Linked DNA regions of Homo sapiens: region 1 is linked to region 2. The links are contacts of gene promoters, found by promoter capture Hi-C in human tissues and cell types (Jung and others, 2019). All regions are on one chromosome and are shown on one strand. The core of a region is centred on a gene start or on the middle of the fragment in contact, and the rest is flanking DNA. Distances in the headings are between cores, read along the strand shown.

Evidence for each region. Contacts are between HindIII fragments. The study calls those that stand out against the background at their distance.
Region 1: the fragment with the promoter of DECR2 here is called in contact with the fragment with the promoter of POLR3K in region 2 in 2 of the 25 tissues and cell types used here (lymphoblastoid cells and spleen).

The regions. Positions count from the first base shown.
Region 1 is chr16:400,537-403,896 of GRCh38, reverse strand. It overlaps DECR2 (2,4-dienoyl-CoA reductase 2), which reads right to left and starts at 2,012. Exons shown (of 9, transcript NM_020664.4): 1 at 1,854-2,012. The coding sequence starts at 1,933. NME4 (NME/NM23 nucleoside diphosphate kinase 4) reads right to left here. Exons shown (of 5, transcript NM_005009.3): 5 at 3,143-3,360. RefSeq lists enhancers at 2,447-3,032, 2,880-3,189. The HindIII fragment of the contact is 11,138 bases long and covers 1-3,245 here.
Region 2 is chr16:51,736-54,857 of GRCh38, reverse strand. It overlaps POLR3K (RNA polymerase III subunit K), which reads left to right and starts at 1,250. Exons shown (of 3, transcript NM_016310.5): 1 at 1,250-1,382. The coding sequence starts at 1,272. It overlaps SNRNP25 (small nuclear ribonucleoprotein U11/U12 subunit 25), which reads right to left and starts at 1,030. Exons shown (of 5, transcript NM_024571.4): 1 at 800-1,030. The coding sequence starts at 841. RefSeq lists silencers at 680-779, 920-1,239 and enhancers at 1,570-1,729, 1,458-1,984. The HindIII fragment of the contact is 23,499 bases long and covers 1-3,122 here.

The DNA.
Region 1 (3,360 bases), core at 763-3,262, 350 kb before region 2:
GGGCCTATTTATTTATTTTGAGACAGGTTCTTGCTACGTCATCCAGGTTGGAGTGCAGTGGCACCATCACGGCTCACTGCCGCCTTGACCTCTTGGGCTAGAAGGATCCTCCTGCTTCAGCCTCCCCAGTAGCTGGGACTACAGGTGCATGCCAGAGTGCCCAGCTAATTTTTCATCTAGTTTTTCTAGAGAGGGGTATCGTTTTGTTGCTCAGGCTGGTCCTGAACTTGTGCTGACACAAACTTGCAAAGTGCAGTGGGGGAAAGGGTATTTCTGTGTCTTTTGACAGAAATGGACAGAAGTAGATACAAGAGAGAAAAATACCCTGGCTTAAACAAGATAGAGGTTATAATTTCCTCTCTCCTAAGCCCTGCATGGCACTAATATCAAATATGATACCTGAGATTCAGCAAGCTACGTCGGGATAATATGGCTTTTTTATTTATTAGAGATTTTCTTGTACGCATTAAATGTGTACTGATCGGTATGACTGGCACAAACTGTACCAGATGGATGGCAAACTTTTGCTGATCTCCAAGTTGCCTTTCCTATTCTTAATTATTAAAGATTAATTTTGGGCCAGGTGCAGCGTCTCACTCCTGTCATCCCAGCACTTTGGGAGGCCGAGGCAGGTGGATCATCTGAGGTCAGGAGTTCCAGACCAGCCTGACCAACATGGTGACACTCACCTCTACTAGAAATACAATTAGCCCAGCGTGGTATTGTGTGCCTATAGTCCCACTTGGGCGCACTGAGGCTGAAGCAGGAGAATTGGGAGGCTGAGGCAGGAGAATTGCTTCAACCCAGAATGAGACTCCGTTTCGAAAAAAAACTTTTTTTTTTTCCTGCAGAACACTCAGAGAGAATTGTCAATACCTGTCCTTGGAGAACATAATTTAAAACTTGTTTTCTTTTTTTGAGATGGAGTTTCACTCTTGTTGCCCAGTGCAATGGTGCGATCTCGGCTCACTGCAACCTCCACCTCCCGAGTTCAAGTGATTCTCCTGCCTCAGCCTCCCAAGTAGTTGGGATTACAGGTGTGCGCCACCACACCCGGCTAATTTTTTGTATTTTTAGCAGAGACGGGGTTTCACCATGTTGGCCAGGCTGGTCTCGAACTCCTGACCTCTGGTGATCTACCCGCTTCGGCCTCCCAAAGAGCTGGGATTACAGGCGTGAGCCACTGCTCCTGGCAAAAGATCAAAATTTTAATAGAAACTTGAAAATGTTGCCAATTGAAAAAAAGAAAAGGAAAAAAAAAAAAGGATCCGCCCATTAGCCGAGTGAGGGCAGGTGACCGGGGAGGATCGACCTTTGCCCGGGCTGCCTTCTCTTGTGAACACCAAGGCGTTTGCAGGAAAATGAAGAGCTGCTGGGCAAAACCTGGCATTCCTGGGCCTTCTGGGTCTTCCGGAAAAATGATTTCAACCTAAAATTTTCTGTTAAGAAAGAGGCCAGGTTGGGCCGGGCGCGGTGGCTCACGCCTGTAAATCCCAGCACTTTGGGAAGCCGAGGCGGGTGGATCACCTGAGGTCAGGAGTTCGAAAAGAGCCTGACCAACACGGTGACACCCCCTCTCTACTAAAAATAAAAATTAGCCGGGCTGAGGCAGGAGAATCGCTTGAACCCGGGAGGCAGAGTTTGCAGTGAGCGGAGATCGTGCCACTGCACTCCAGCCTGGGCGACACAGCGAGATTCCGTCTCAAAAAAAAAAAAAGAAAGAAAAAAGAAAGAAAGGAGCCAGGCAAGACAGGTTTCCTAACACGCGAGCCCTCGGGGACCACGTGGGGGCGCCGGCGCCCGCGGACCGGACCCCGCACCAAGGCTGCGCTCGCTTCCCAGGCCCCGCTCACCGCAGCAGGTCCGGGCAGAAGAGGTGGCGGTACGCGGGGAGACAGTCGTCCCCCTCCACGTCGGGCGGCGGCTGGGCCATGGCGCTCCCGTCGGGGACTGCGGGGACAACGGGCGGGAGCGGCCTCGGCCTCCAGGACCCGGCGCGCAGCTGCGAACTCGCCTGGAACCGGGAGCCCCGCCCCACTCCCCGGACGCCCCGCCCCTGCCCTGATTGCTTCCCGGAGGCCCCGCCCCTCCCCCGAATTCTCCCCGGAGGCCCCGCCCCCGCCCGCGGCCTGCTGGGACTGGAAGTCGGCGCGCGAGGCGCAGGCGCATTGCGGGGCCGGGGGCGCGGTTCCCGCGGCAGAAGCTCGGCGGTCTGCGGGTCTCCTCCCCGAGTCTTTTTCACAGGTATTCGGCGTCAGCGCCGCGTTCAGAGCCTCCAGGACTTGTGGGATACCCCTGGCTCCTGGGTCCAGGCCAGGCTCGCAGCCTCTGGGCTCCCCGTTCGCCTCCCCGTAAACACCATGGGGAGGGCCGGGGCCCAGGGAAGCGCGGCCAGCCCCGCGCCGCTTCCCAAAATGACCCGTTTTGAGGCCAATAAAGAAGGGTCCGGGGCCGGGCGCGGTGGCTCACGCCTGTAATCCCAACACTTTGGGAGGCCGAGGCGGGCGGATCACGAGGTCAGGAGTTCGAGACCATCCTGGACAACATGGCGAAACCCCCTCTTTACTAAAAATACAAAAATTAGCCGGGCATTGTGGCGGGTGCCTGTAGTTCCATCTACTCGGGAGGCTGAGGCAGGAGAATCGCTTGAACCCGGGAGGCGGAGGTTGCAGTGAGCCGAGATCGCGCCACTGCACTCTATCCTGGGCGACAGAGCGACACTCCGTTTCAAAAACAAAAACAAAAAAAAAAGGGTCCGTTACTTCTGTTCCGCGTGGGGGCCCGGGCGGGGCTATGCCGCGAACCCAGGACGGGGCGCCCCGCCCGCACCACTGTTGGAAGACGGGGGTCCGCGACGGCCACGGGGGAAAAACACGCAGGGCCGCTCCTGAGCTGAACACACCCGCGGGCCAGCGGCTTCAGGGGCGTGACAGAGCCGCCAGCGCTACAGTAATGGCTGCCAGGCCCTTTCTGCGCTGGTTGGCCTCAGCCCGCCGGCCCCTCTCTGCCCCTTCCCCGGGAAGGCAGCTTCTCCTTTGGCGGGATCACAGCACCGGCTCGCGCCTAGCTTGGGTTCTCCGGATTGCAGGCTGGTGGTCTCTGGACCCCTGCCTGGCTCATACATCCAACAACGTTATGGAACTGGGTGTGCAAAACTTCCTCTTTACTGTTCAACTCCTTACAACTTGCATAAAGGCGTCATTTCTACCTCAGAGCTGGGGGAAGTCATAATTAGTGTACCACCCATGTGCTGGGCACAGTGAATTTTAATGCCTCCCCTTTAGAGGAGAGGTTATGATAATGTGAAGACCCCCCCCCACCACAAAGGTTGTCCGGCACTTTGGTGCAAAAAGGATTGGT
Region 2 (3,122 bases), core at 1-2,500:
AATACAAAAAATTAGCCGGGCGTGGTGGCGCGTGCCTGTAGTGAACCCGGGAGGGGGAGGTTGCAGTGAGTCGAGATGGCACCACTACACTCCAGCCTGGCAACGGACCAAGACTCAGTCTCAAATAAATAAATAAATAAATAAAAAGACAGTATCGTCCCAAAGCATGATACTGACGCTTTGACACATGATTGACGCTTGAGGCAAATGGAACAATCAGTACTACTAATCTTGCTCTTATTTAAAACTAAATTTTTCTTTTACCGTAGGCTCTTTTTTTGCCTCAACTTTGACTTTTAAAGGTATTACAGGCCAGGCGGGTGGCTCACACCTAAATCCCAGCATTTTGGGAGGCCGAGGCAGGAGGATCGCCTGAGCCCAGGAGTTTCAGATCAGCCTGGGCAACATAGTGAGACTCCCTCTGTACAAAATATTTAAAAATTAGCCGGGTGTGGTAGCGCGCACCTGTGGTCCCAATTACTCGGGAGGCTGAGGTGGGAGGACGCCGCTGCACTCCAGCCCGGGCAACGCAGCAAGACCCTGTCCCCCGAGCCCCCTAAATACAATTACATTAAAATGTCATTTGATGTCACTCACTAATGAGGTTTTTGGTTCCTCTTTAAGCTTCGCGCCCCAGGCGAGTGCGCCCGGTCAAGGTTAAAACCCTCGTTTACGCCCAGAGGCGCCTTCCTCAGCCTTGGGCCGCAGTCTCCCACCAGCACCTTCGGAGGCTGCCGGCGCCCGGATGCCCGGACCCCGGGGAACGACTCCCGCGCCCCCAGCCCCCGCCCGCACACACCTGGATCGGCAGATCGCAGAGCAGCGGGTCCTGCACCACCATAGCCAGACCCTCCTGGAACACGTCCATGGCCTCGGAGTGCGGCAGCGCCTCTTCTTCGTCCTCATCTTCCTCTTGCGCCTCGGGCCCACCCGCGGCCTCCGTCTCCTCCAGGGCCGCCCCTCTCAGCCGGGCTCTGCCCGCACTGCCAGCCCGCACTAGGGAGGCCAAGCGCGCACGCGCAGGAACTGCGGCCCGCCCCAGCGAGGCCGCCCAGCCACTGGCGCGCCGGGGGGGGTGGGGCGGCTGCAGTGACCAATGACAAGTGCGAGACAGCCTGCAGCAGGGCCGGGAGCGCAGAATCGCCCTGTCTATTGGTTGGTTGGTGTGGCGGGAAGGCTGCCAGGACCAATGTGAGCTCGAGGCGGGCGGCGCATCGGCGCTGAGCGGCAGTGGGAGCTGCCGGGAGTTGGAGCCTGCGGAGTTCGAGACCATGCTGCTGTTCTGCCCCGGCTGCGGGAACGGGCTGATCGTGGAGGAGGGACAACGCTGCCACCGCTTCGCCTGCAACACGTGCCCCTACGTGCACAACATCACCCGCAAGGTGGGACCCGAAGGCCGGCGCTGGGCGCGGGCGACTCTCGCAGGCCTTCCGCGTCCTCCGACTGCTGCTCCATCGCCGCCAGCCCCGGCGTCTGCCTCTGTCCGCTCTTTCTCGCGCCCCTTTCTGGTCTGCAGCAGATCTGTGGGCTCTACTTTCCAATACACTCAGAAAGCCCCACCGTTTCCCACCGCCTTGGGTTCCTGCTCCCACGCTCGCGCCCTTCTCTGCGTTCACAGCGGCGGCCACGGTGATTTCCTTAAAGCTGAGGCACGCAGGTCCGTGCTGTGCGCAGAAACCTTCGGCTCTTCTCCAGCTCACGCAGACGAAAAGCCGGAGTTCTCCCAGGGCCTACCAGGTTCCGACACTGACTCCCTCCCCTGCGTGCGTCTCCGATTTCAAGTCCTAATGCCCTTCCTGTTGCCCTTTGCCGCATCAACACCGCCTCCTGGACGATCTCTCATCGTGCTCATGGTGCTAGCAGGGCCTTTGCACTTGCTGTTGCTCAGTTCACTCTTCCCCTAGATCGCCACCTTACTCATTGGTCTTGTCTTTACCGTATTTTAAATTTCAGCCCCTCCTTCCAATTTATTCTCCTTCCCTTTGTAATTGTTTCCATAGGGCTTATTACCTTCTAATATATTATGTAATGTATTGTGTGCTTTCTTTATTTTTTTTTATTGTTTTTTTTTTTTTTTTTTTTTTTTTTTTTTGAGACGGAGTCCCGCTCTGTCGCCCAGGCTGGAGTGCAGTGGCGCGATCTCGGCTCACTGCAAGCTCTGCCTCCCGGGTTCACGCCACTCTCCTGCCTCAGCCTCCCAATTAGCTGGGACTACAGGCGTCCGCCACCACCCCTGGCTGATTTTTTTGTATTTTTAGTAGAGATGGGGTTTCACCGTGTGTTAGCCAGGACGGTCTCCTGACCTCGTGATCTGCCCGCCTCGGCCTCCCAAAGTGCTGGGATTACAGGCGTGAGCCACCGCGCCCGACCTTTTTTTTTTTTTTTTTTTTTTTTTTTTTTTTTTTTTTTTTGAGACAGAGTCTCGCTCTGTTTCCCAGGCTGGAGTGCAATGGCGTAATCTCGGCTCACTGCAACCTCTGCCTCCCGGGTTCAAGCAATTCTTCTGCCTCGGCTTCCCGAGTAGCTGGAATTACAGGCGCCTGCCACCATCCCCGGCTAATTTTTGTATTTTTAGTAAAGACGGGGTTTCACCGCGCTGGCCAGGCTGGTCTCGAACTCCCAACCTCAGGTGATCCGCTTGCCTTGGCCTCCCAAAGTGCTGGGATTATAGGCGTGAGCCACCACGCCTGGCCAGAATACCTTTACTTTTTAGCAGTTAGAATATGTTGGTGCTACGTCAGTCTTAATGTTTGCATGCTACTCCAGTTTGTACTGTGTTGTGGGAGTTTGGAGTTTGAAACTACGGGAAGAGTGAACTCTTTGTTTTTTTTTTTTTTTGAGATGGAGTCTTGCTCCGTAGCCCAGGCTGGAGTGCAGTGGTGTGATCTCGGCTCACTGCAAGCTCCGCCTCCCAGGTTCACACCATTCTCCTGCCTCAGCCTCCTGAGTAGCTGGGACTACAGGCGCCCGCCAACACGCCGGGCTAATTTTTTGTATTTTTAGTAGAGACAGGGTTTCACCGTGTTAGCCAGGATGGTCTCGATCTCTTGACCTCGTGATCCGCCCGTCTTGGCCTCCCAAAGTGCTGGGATTACAGGTGTCAGCCACCACGCCCAGCCGAG